Regions from separate parts of the Homo sapiens genome. Here region 1 is linked to region 2. Evidence: promoter capture Hi-C in human tissues and cell types (Jung and others, 2019). All regions are on one chromosome and are shown on one strand. Each heading gives the region's core, a stretch centred on a gene start or on the middle of the fragment in contact. The rest is flanking DNA. Distances are from core to core; before and after follow the strand shown. Region 1 overlaps ZNF91 (zinc finger protein 91). Region 2 holds the start of ZNF675 (zinc finger protein 675).

The links. The method cuts DNA at HindIII sites, captures the fragments that hold promoters and counts their contacts. A contact is called where the count stands out against the background at its distance.
Region 1: a contact is called between a fragment that was not itself captured here and the fragment with the promoter of ZNF675 in region 2, in 1 of the 25 tissues and cell types used here (small bowel).

Annotation. Positions count from the first base shown.
Region 1 is chr19:23,357,312-23,363,111 of GRCh38, reverse strand. It overlaps ZNF91 (zinc finger protein 91), which reads left to right. Exons shown (of 4, transcript NM_003430.4): 4 at 387-5,416. The coding sequence ends at 3,709. Among named protein-coding and RNA genes, the nearest start is that of ZNF91, 35 kb to the left of the region's middle. The HindIII fragment of the contact is 5,150 bases long and covers 1-3,837 here.
Region 2 is chr19:23,684,785-23,690,944 of GRCh38, reverse strand. ZNF675 (zinc finger protein 675) reads left to right here and starts at 3,733. Exons shown (of 4, transcript NM_138330.3): 1 at 3,733-3,914. The coding sequence starts at 3,912. RefSeq lists enhancers at 3,466-3,515, 3,806-4,195, 4,327-5,297. The HindIII fragment of the contact is 16,679 bases long and covers 1-6,160 here.

The DNA of each region.
Region 1 (5,800 bases), core at 13-2,512, 330 kb after region 2:
TTTTTTGCATTGTGCTCCCCTGAGACACTGCACACACTTAACTCATTCATAAATTTTCCATAGATGTAATTTGATCTGTATGTTTTTGTTACATATATATGTCTATGAAAGAATTAGGGCCTGTGCAGGGTAATGGCGTGAACCCAGGAGGCAGGGCTTGCTGTGAGCCAAGATTGCACCACTGCACTCCAGCCTGGGTGACAGAGCGAGACTCCGTCTCAAAAACAAACAAACAAAAAAACAAAAATAGAATTAGGGCCTGTGGTATTTTGCAGTGCCATATTGTTTATGTAGTTTGTATAATTTTGTAGGTAAGATTTTTAAACTATATTCATGTGAGTCTAGGTGAGTGGAGTAATTTATTATTTTTAGTTTTTTTTTTTCAGGTATATGTCCTCATTTTCCTCAAGACTTTTGGCCAGAGCAGAGCATGGAAGATTCTTTTCAAAAAGTATTACTGAGAAAATATGAAAAATGTGGACATGAGAATTTACAGTTAAGAAAAGGTTGTAAAAGTGTGGATGAGTGTAAGGTGCACAAAGAAGGTTATAATAAACTTAACCAGTGTCTCACAACTGCCCAGAGCAAAGTATTTCAATGTGGGAAATATTTGAAAGTCTTCTATAAATTTTTAAATTCAAACAGACATACGATAAGACATACTGGAAAGAAATGCTTCAAATGTAAAAAATGTGTCAAGTCATTTTGCATCCGTTTACACAAAACCCAACATAAATGCGTTTATATTACAGAGAAGTCCTGTAAATGTAAAGAATGTGAAAAAACCTTTCATTGGTCCTCAACCCTTACTAATCATAAGGAAATTCATACTGAAGATAAACCCTACAAATGTGAAGAATGTGGCAAAGCTTTTAAGCAGCTCTCAACCCTTACTACACATAAAATAATCTGTGCTAAAGAGAAAATCTACAAGTGTGAAGAATGTGGCAAAGCATTTCTATGGTCCTCAACCCTAACTAGACATAAGAGGATACACACTGGAGAGAAACCCTACAAATGTGAAGAATGTGGCAAAGCTTTTAGCCATTCTTCAACCCTTGCTAAACATAAGAGAATTCATACTGGAGAGAAACCCTACAAATGTGAAGAATGTGGCAAAGCTTTTAGCCGTTCTTCAACCCTTGCTAAACATAAGAGAATTCATACTGGAGAGAAACCCTACAAATGTAAAGAATGTGGCAAAGCTTTTAGCAATTCCTCAACCCTTGCTAATCATAAGATAACTCATACTGAAGAGAAACCCTACAAATGTAAAGAATGTGACAAAGCTTTTAAGCGACTCTCAACCCTTACTAAACATAAAATAATACATGCTGGAGAGAAACTCTACAAATGTGAAGAATGTGGCAAAGCTTTTAATCGATCTTCAAATCTTACTATACATAAGTTTATTCATACTGGAGAGAAACCTTACAAGTGTGAAGAATGTGGCAAAGCATTTAACTGGTCCTCAAGCCTTACTAAACATAAAAGATTTCATACTAGAGAGAAACCCTTCAAATGTAAAGAATGTGGCAAAGCATTTATATGGTCTTCAACCCTAACTAGACATAAGAGGATACACACTGGAGAGAAGCCCTACAAATGTGAAGAATGTGGCAAAGCTTTTAGGCAATCCTCAACCCTTACTAAACATAAGATAATTCATACTGGAGAGAAACCCTACAAATTTGAAGAATGTGGCAAAGCTTTTAGACAATCCTTAACCCTTAATAAACATAAGATAATTCATAGTAGAGAGAAACCCTACAAATGTAAAGAATGTGGCAAAGCTTTTAAGCAATTCTCAACCCTTACTACACATAAAATAATTCATGCTGGAAAGAAACTCTACAAATGTGAAGAATGTGGCAAAGCTTTTAATCATTCCTCAAGTCTTTCTACACATAAGATAATTCATACTGGAGAGAAGTCTTACAAGTGTGAAGAATGTGGCAAAGCATTTCTATGGTCCTCAACCCTAAGAAGACATAAGAGGATACACACTGGAGAGAAACCCTACAAATGTGAAGAATGTGGCAAAGCTTTTAGCCATTCTTCAGCCCTTGCTAAACATAAGAGAATTCATACTGGAGAGAAACCCTACAAATGTAAAGAATGTGGCAAAGCTTTTAGCAATTCCTCAACCCTTGCTAATCATAAGATAACTCATACTGAAGAGAAACCCTACAAATGTAAAGAATGTGACAAAACTTTTAAGCGACTCTCAACCCTTACTAAACATAAAATAATACATGCTGGAGAGAAACTCTACAAATGTGAAGAATGTGGCAAAGCTTTTAATCGATCTTCAAATCTTACTATACATAAGTTTATTCATACTGGAGAGAAACCTTACAAGTGTGAAGAATGTGGCAAAGCATTTAACTGGTCCTCAAGCCTTACTAAACATAAAAGAATTCATACTAGAGAGAAACCCTTCAAATGTAAAGAATGTGGCAAAGCATTTATATGGTCTTCAACCCTAACTAGACATAAGAGGATACACACTGGAGAGAAGCCCTACAAATGTGAAGAATGTGGCAAAGCTTTTAGCCGTTCCTCAACCCTTACTAAGCATAAGACAATTCATACTGGAGAGAAACCCTACAAATGTAAAGAATGTGGCAAAGCTTTTAAGCACTCCTCAGCCCTTGCTAAACATAAAATAATACATGCTGGAGAGAAACTCTACAAATGTGAGGAATGTGGCAAAGCTTTTAATCAATCTTCAAATCTTACGACACATAAGATAATTCATACTAAAGAGAAACCTTCCAAGAGTGAAGAATGTGACAAAGCATTTATCTGGTCCTCAACCCTTACTGAACATAAGAGAATTCATACCAGAGAGAAAACCTACAAATGTGAAGAATGTGGCAAAGCATTTAGCCAGCCTTCACACCTTACTACACATAAGAGGATGCACACTGGAGAGAAACCCTACAAATGTGAAGAATGTGGCAAAGCTTTTAGCCAATCCTCAACCCTTACTACACATAAGATAATTCATACTGGAGAGAAACCCTACAAATGTGAAGAATGTGGCAAAGCTTTTAGGAAATCTTCAACTCTTACTGAACATAAGATAATTCATACTGGAGAGAAACCCTACAAATGTGAAGAATGTGGCAAAGCATTTAGCCAATCCTCAACCCTAACTAGACATACGAGGATGCACACTGGAGAGAAACCATACAAATGTGAAGAATGTGGCAAAGCTTTTAATCGATCCTCAAAGCTTACTACACATAAGATAATTCATACTGGAGAGAAACCTTACAAGTGTGAAGAATGTGGCAAAGCATTTATATCATCCTCAACCCTAAATGGACATAAGAGAATTCATACTAGAGAGAAACCCTACAAATGTGAAGAATGTGGCAAAGCATTTAGCCAATCTTCAACCCTAACTAGACATAAGAGGTTGCACACCGGAGAGAAACCCTACAAATGTGGAGAATGTGGCAAAGCCTTTAAAGAGTCCTCAGCTCTTACTAAACATAAGATAATTCACACTGGAGAGAAACCCTACAAATGTGAAAAATGTGGCAAAGCCTTTAACCAGTCTTCAATCCTTACTAACCATAAGAAAATTCATACTATCACACCTGTAATCCCACTACTTTGGGAGGCCGAGGCGGGCGGATCACGAGGTCAGGAGATGGAGACCATCCTGGCTAACACAGTGAAACCCCTTCTCTACTAAAAAATACAAAAAATTAGCCGGGCGTGGTGGCGGGCGCCTGTAGTCCCAGCTATGCGAGAGGCTGAGGCAGGAGAATGGCGTGAACCCGGGAGGCGGAGCTTGCAGTGAGCCGAGATCACGCCACTGCACTCAAGCCTGGGCGACAGAGCGAGACTCCGTCTCAAAAAAAAAAAAAAGAAAATTCATACTAGAGAGAAACCCTACAAATATAAAGAATGTGGCAAATCTTTTAACCGGTCTTCAACCTTTACTAAACATAAGGTAATTCATACTGGAGTAAAACTCTACAAATGTGAAGAATGTGGCAAATCCTTTTTCTGGTCCTCAGCCCTAACCAGACATAAGAAAATTCATACTGGACAGCAACCCTACAAACAGGAAAAATTTGGCAAAGCCTTTAACCAGTTTTCACACCTTACTACAGATAAGATAACTCATATTGGAGAGAAATCTTACAAGTGTGAATAATGTGGTAAAGTCTATAAAAAGTCCTGAATTCTTAACAGACATAATATTATTCATACTGGAGAGAAACTCTACAAACCTGAAAGATGTGCCAACGCTTTTGACAAGTCAAACTTTTCTAAACATCAAGAAAATCATGCTGCTGAGAAATCCTAGAAATGTGAAGAATGTGACAAAGCCTCTAAATGATTGTCACACTTGATCGTAGGTAAGATAATTCATACTGGAGAAAACTACCAGTGTGAACAATGTGGCCAAGCTTTGAACTAATGCTCACACCTTAATGCATAGGAAAGCATTTATGCTTGAGAAAAAGTGAACAAATATAGACAAAAAGCCATTAATACCTGCTCACATCGTACTCAAATTCAGAGCGTTCATACTAAATAAGAAGTGTAATTACTGTCAAACGACTGATCAGAAAATATGTCTTTAAAGTACAGAAGAGTATTTTGAAAAAGCATTACAAATATGAAGAGGCATTATTTATGACCTTTTCTATGGAAAGGTAAGGACATTAAAAATGTAAGATGCATGATGAAAATTTAAGTAGAGAGGATCTTTATGGTTAACTTATAATATCGAGTGATGCATGAGGTAGATGTTCAGATTAATATTCTGCATTATTATGAAAGAAAAACATTCTTAATTTTAGTTAAAGTTTAGTATGATTTATTGTATTTTTATGAAATATATGTAGCATATTTTTAAATTATAAATTGCATGTGAACTTTTCAACCAAACAGTTTTAACATGTTAAATACTATCATGAATTCAATGAAGTGTTATTATGCCAGTAACTTTAACCTATTCCACCTTACTCAAGGGTGTAGGTAAAAGATGGTAAAAATACACTATTTGGTAAGATAATGGACTGACATCTCTAGTGATTTTTTTTGCCAGTGAGTTTTAATTGCCATTAAGTTAAAGAATATTGTTCCCATAGGCTAAATTTTTATTTTTATTTTCTCATTTAAATGTATTTGACTTAATTTTTGTGGATACCTAATATGTGTACATATTATGCCATATGTGGCATATTTTGATACGGACACACAATATATAACAATCGCATTAGACTAAATGCGGTCTCCATTACCTCTAGCATTTATTCTTTGTATTACAAATAATTCAATTCTACAGTTTTAGTTATTTTTAAATGTACAATTAAATTGTTGTTGACTACAGGATTATTTTTATGGTCATAATAAAACTTATATACAAACATAAGTAAAATCCATATATTTCTGAGTCCCGAATAAATCTTTTTTAATTTTTTCATATATTTTTCTTCGAACATGTGGCCTCTGCCTGCAAGCACATATGGACTGTTAGTATTGATTTACATAGAGTTAAATATACACATCTGTTAGTCTAAGATGAATCTTAGGTGTAAATAAATTATGGAGTGTGTTTAAGTTCGAAACTATTTTTAGCAGAAAAAAGCAATATTGGAACAAAATCATTTTAAGGAGGTGTCTAATTTACTACAAAACAAAAATTCTCAAAAATGCTGAAAGCAAATTTATACTCTGCTTTGTATTGAATTTCTTGCTGTACAATCTTTTGGCTTATGGTTCAGAGTCTCCCCATGCAAATTCTGTTTTAACTTGACTGGTACTCATG
Region 2 (6,160 bases), core at 2,484-4,983:
ATACAAAAATTAGCCAGGCATAGTGGCATGCGCCTGTAGTCCCAGCTACTCTGGAGGCTGAGCCAGGAGAATTGCTTGAACTTAGGAGGCAGAGGTTGCAGTGAGCTGAGATCCCGCCATTGCACTCCAGCCTGGGTGACAGAGCTAGACTCCATCTTAAAAAAAAAGAGTTAATGTGATTTATATATAATTAAATCAATTAGATGTACGAAAAACAATTCTGCATAGAGTGTAGAAACGAAAGCAAAAAATGCTTTTGATGAAGGAAGTTAGAAACATTTAGTGTAGTTTGAAATTACTTAATGGTTGTGTCAAATTGAAAAAATAAAATAGTAGATAAAAATAAAATATAAAAAGTTTAAATGATTATGAGAGATTATAACATATTTATGGAAATCTAGATTGGCCAAAAATGACAAATTTGATGAATTTACTTGTAAGGTTTTATTAAAATTAGCTTTACCATTGATAATACACTAATTAAAAAGTATAACAATTTTCTCTTGAACACAAATTTTATGTATTATTAGACCCCTAACTTTTTTTTTCTTTTTTATTGAGACAGCATCTCACTCTTTCACCCAGGCTGGAGTGCAATGGCATGATCTCGGCTCACTGCAACCTTCACCTCCCAGGTTCAAGCAATTCTCCTGCCTCAGCCTCCCAAGTAGCTGGGATTACAGCGGCTTGCCACCACGCCTAGCTAATTTTTTGTATTTTTAGTAGAGACAGGGTTTCACCAAGTTGGCCAGGCTGGTCTCAAACTCCTGACCTCAGGTGATCCACCTGCCTTGGCCTCCCTAAGTGCTGGGATTACAGGTGTGAGCCACTGGGCACGGCCTAGACCCCTAACTTTTGGATGCTACAGAGGGTCTATGCAACATCCAAAAGAGTAAAAAACGTAATTATTTGATATGTTAAATTACATGAAAAGCATTGTTGAATTAAAGATAATGTTTGATCTTCTTCAACTTCTATTTTAATATATATTAACATTTATTTCATAATATTATGAAATTTCTAAAAATCTTATATATCTGAGTATAAGCTATTAGTCATAATTATGGTTATGATAAGTTATTGCAGGTCACAGACATAATAAGTTTGTTTCATTTGTTTCTTTATAATTATTTGAAGTCATTTCTACAGTTAATGGTTTAATTCTGATGTAGTTTCTACAAACTTCAAAAACATGCAAAATCCTAGAGTACTGTGTCTGTAAGGAGATTCATGAAAAGATGAAAATAGCCCAGACAAGTTGAGTACAGGTTTCTGATAATTTTAAAATTATATTGTTTGGACTGGGTAAGGATTGTGAGAATTCTAAAGAACACACTGATTCATAAAACTGCTAATTCAGGAAAAACAAAAATAGTTGAACATCAGGAAAATACTCTGCCACTTTTTTTTTTTTTTTTTGAGACAGAGTCATGCTCTGTCACCAGGCTGGAGTCTCAGTGGCGTGATCTCAGCTCACTGCAACCTCCGCCTCTCCAGTTCAAGCGATTTTCCTGCCTCAGCCTCCCGAGTAGCTGGGACTGCAGGCATGTGCCACCACACCCAACTAATTTTTGTATTTTTAATAGAGTCGGGGTTTTGCCATGTTGGCCAGGATGGTCTTGATCTCTTGACCTCGTGATCTGCCCTCCTTGGCTTCCCAATGTGCTGGGATTATAGGCATCAGCCACTGCGCCTGGCCTCTGACACATTTTTGTGTTAAATAAACCAGTACTAAAATTTTTTAGATATGCCATTTGAATAAACTTTGTGATTCAAGTCAGATTACCTATGATTACCCCTCAGTTATCAGTGTTATACACCTAAATTGAAGAAACAAACCTGATATTTAAGCAGACATAAATTCAGTAATAAATGTGAACTCATGGAGAACCTAGACAGCCAACAGCCACTTGCTCATTCCTGAGTTTGGAAGGGCCCTTCTGAATTGTGAGATGATGTACCCAAGGTTAAAGGTCCTGAAGTGTTCCCGAAGGACATGTTGACTCTCATACTTGGGCCAGGAATATGTCACAATATTTTCTGAGGGCAGGGACCAGACAGGAGTGTCACATCACCTAAATAGGAATATGTTACAACCTTCTCCTGACAGCAGGACACAGGCAGCAGAGTCACATCACCTGGGTGCTGAGCCCAGCAATAGGTAACAATGCTTTCTGTGGCTCAAGGCCCAGGCAGGAGAGACACATCACCTGCTACCTAGGCTTAATGATAAGTCACAATTTTTCCTGTGGGCAGAGTGCAGGGAAAAATGGACAGTTGCATCTCTTAGGTGATTGATGCAGAGATATGTCACAAGGCCCTCTGTAAAAAAGGCTCAGGCAAGGGCCTCCCATTTTATATATGTTGGGCCTAGTAATATGTTCTATTGTGCAAAATATTCTGGGCCTGGGTAAAAGAAGAGAGCCACATAACCTGAATGCAGAACTTAGCAATATGTCATGATGCACCCTGTGGGTAGCGCCAATGCAAGAAAAAAGACTCACATTACCTTTATTCTTGACTTAAAGTCTTATGTCTTGTAAGAGAATATTGAATAATGCAAAAATACATGTAGACATGTCTGCGTGTGATTGGTGCTTATACTCACACAGTTCACCACACCACAGGAGAAAACAGATAACCACAGGCTGACCGTTAGGGCCAAGGCCAAATAGCAAAATAAGTTTGCCTTTAATCTATTTTCTCCATATCTAAACATTGGAGGTTAAGACTGTGGACAGATCTGAAGATACAGAGTTTTCTTGTTTTGTGGCTTCATCATTCTTTGTTCACTGTCTGATGTTTGGAATTAAGGTGAGCAACAGGTGGGCAGCAGTAGTTAATAAAATAACCAGAGGTAACCACAGGTCGACCTGTGGTTATTTTATTCTATCTGTCCTCTGTTCTTTCTATGGTCACTAACTGTTTTTTCCTTGGAATTGAAGAGAGATGTTGGTAGAGAGAGGCTGTCCCCTCACCTCTGGCAAAAAAGGGATGTTCAGGCTCTTCTTCACCCCCCTGACATCAGAGCTGCATTTTAATGTGGCAGCTATTGGCCACGTGTGGCTACTGGGTGCCTGGAATGTGGCTGGTCTGAATTGCAATGTGTTAGGTAAAATAGAGTTATTTTCAAAGATTTAGTTCCATATATGTGTGTGTGTGTGTGTGTGTGTGTGTGTGTGTGTATACACATATATACATATATATGTGTATTTCATCAATAATTTCATATTGCTCTCATACTAAAATGATAGTACTTTGGATATATTGGGTTAGATTGTTACAATCAATTCCACTTGTTTTTTTCTTTTTAAAGTTTGACTACTAGAAAATTTAAAATTCACATGTGGCTCACATTTTATTTGAGGATTGCCTCTTTTTAAAATTCTCAGGCTGCCTACTCAAAGGACCAGAAGCCAGGAAGGTCATAAAGTCTGAAATTCTAAAATAATTATTATTATATTATTTTTCTTTGTGAGTAGCCATATATCATTTATAAATGTATATGACCTTATACACAAGGTTAAATACAAATACCCTATGGGATGGGCCTGGCTCAGCTAAAAGAGGAAGCCCCGGCTGAAAAGGCTGCAGCGCAGGCTATCAGTCTTCACTCAGCCCAGTGTCTGATCACATCTTCTGTCACTCAGGGCCTGAAGGGTCAGGACCTTAAACGTTGTCCAATCAGGCACGCTGGGCTGGGAACCGTCCAATCAGGCACGCAGCTGGAGCAGACAAGATGGCTTCCGGGATTTGGCGGCGCCTTTGTCTCTCGCTGCAGCCGGAGCTCCAGGTCTCGCTTTCATTGCTCTGTGTCCTCTGCTCCTAGAGGTCCAGCCTCTGTGGGCCTGTGACCTGCAGAAATTGAGAGATCCACAGCTAAGACTCCAGGACCCCCTGGAAGCCTAGAAATGGTGAGAGTTACGGGTGCGACATCCCGAGAGGGGGAAGGGGCTGGTTGGAACCCGTGGGAAATGGCTATGGCGGGACTCAGGCCTCCCCGCAGTCAGCTCCACAATCTGCACCCCGAGTTCTCCTTCCCCAGCTCGGCTCAGTCCCCTGCAGCCATAAGATGGCGGCGCGCTGACAGCCAGCCCCGGGGCATCCCGTCTCTTCTCTGCCTAGTGACTGTGCCCTGGCCTGTAGCCCTCTCTGGGCAGCTCTGTACCCGCAGCGCCGCATTTCTCTCAGATTGTGCAGGGACCACAGGAGGGCCGTCACCGGAGAATCCTGACTCAGGGTGCGGGTTCATTAATGGGAAGAGTTTTGGTCCGTGGGGTTCCCAGTTCCTGTTTTCTCCTATTAAAATTTTATGGGAGGGCCGGGCGCGGTGGCTCAGGTCAGTAATACCAGCACTTTGGGAGACCGAGGTGGGTGGATCACCTGAGGTCAGGAGTTCAAGACCAGCCTGACCAACATGGTGAAACCCCGTTTCTACTAAAAATACAAAATTAGCCGGGCGTGGTGGCACATGCCTGTAATCCCAGATACTCAGAAGGCTGAGGCAGGAGAACCGCTTGAACCCGGGAGGTGGCGGTTGCAGTGAGCCGAGATGACGCCATTGCACTCCAGCCTGGTTAACAAGACCGAAACTCCGTCTTAAAAAATATATAAATAAATAAGTTAAATAAATAAATAAATTATGGGGATCACCACAAAAATATTGGAGAATTTAATCAAAGAGTGATTCAAAAATTGTGGAGCATTCAGCTGTGGTTTGGAGCTTGTGACTTTATGAGAGCAGCTTGAAGGAAAGACTTTTAAAGGTACATGATGAAGAAAACCAAATTAAATAATTGGTTAGGTACAGTTCATAGTTACTTGACTTGTACAATTAAGGTGGACATTTCCTGGTTATGTAATCAGAGGTTAATTGGCAGTTTATGATTGGTTAAGCCTAAATTTTTGTTTCCCTCAATTCAGTAATTTGCAAAAAAATGCATTTGAGTTAGAGTTTTTAAAAAATAGGAACCCAGGGACTAGAGTAACCTCCGTCTAATTGCCTGCTACTTAGTTATTTTCACACTCCACAGGAGACTGATTTTCCCCTGCATTTTTCACAGTTCTCTCAAGCTGGGTCTCAAGCCTACCCCTCATCCCATTCCTCCAGACTAACTATGACTTGCAGTAAAATACTAAATTTCCAGTTTCTTCTCACATTCTCAAATGCCAGCTTCCCCTTTCTAATTCACATTATCAACTATTTGTCTTTTATTGTACACTTTAGATACTGTATTTTAACTAAGCATTTTTTGACATTGAATGGCACTTAAAAAAATCGTTTTCTGTTTGAAAATATTTTTTATGAGAAGAAAAAGAAGAACAATTCCCTGATACTGTATTGTAAAAAATCTTTTCGCCTCATTTTTAAAAATCTTCTCTAGGCACAGAGATAGTATCAGAATATTTTTGGGTCAAGGTTTCCCTTTGGAAACTTTATGGGTGATGTGGCCTCAGCCACCTTCAGTTTTTTCTGGTCCTGGGCTTCAGTAGTTTCTGTGAATAAACCAATATATCTACCATGGCTATGTCTGCTCGAGTGTCTAGTGAATATAATCTACTGGGTTATTTTCTTTCATAAAACAACCTGAGGTATGGAGTGTAGCCTCTCAATGGAAACAGATGAATGCCCTTGGACTGATAGGACTCTCCCCTGCGCTCTTCCTTTGAAAAACTAACCCTTGCGTGCACGGTGGTGCACACCTGTAATCCCAGCACTTTGGGAGTCTGAGGCGGTGGATCACCTGAGGTCAGGAGTTCGCGACCAGCCTGACTAACATGGTGAAACCCCATCTCTACTAAATACAAAAAAATTAGCTGGGCGTGGTGGTGGCTGCCTGTAATCCGAGCTATTTTGGAGGCTGAGAGCCGAGATCGCACCATTGGATTCCAGCCTGGGCACCAAGAGTGAAACTCCATCTCAAAAAAAGAAAAACTAAGCCTTTGAGACATGAAGATTGCCTTTACTCAACCCAGCTTCCATTTCTTGGAGACATATTGCTGGTCAGCCAATCAGATGCTGGTATTGAGGGAAAAACACAGAGATAATTTCTGTCCCCTGAATTGTCTAAGATTTGTGAAAGAAAAAATAGCATTTCAAAAGACAAAAAAAAGTGACCTCAGTGAAATGATGCAAAAACTTGCAAAGTAAAATGCACTT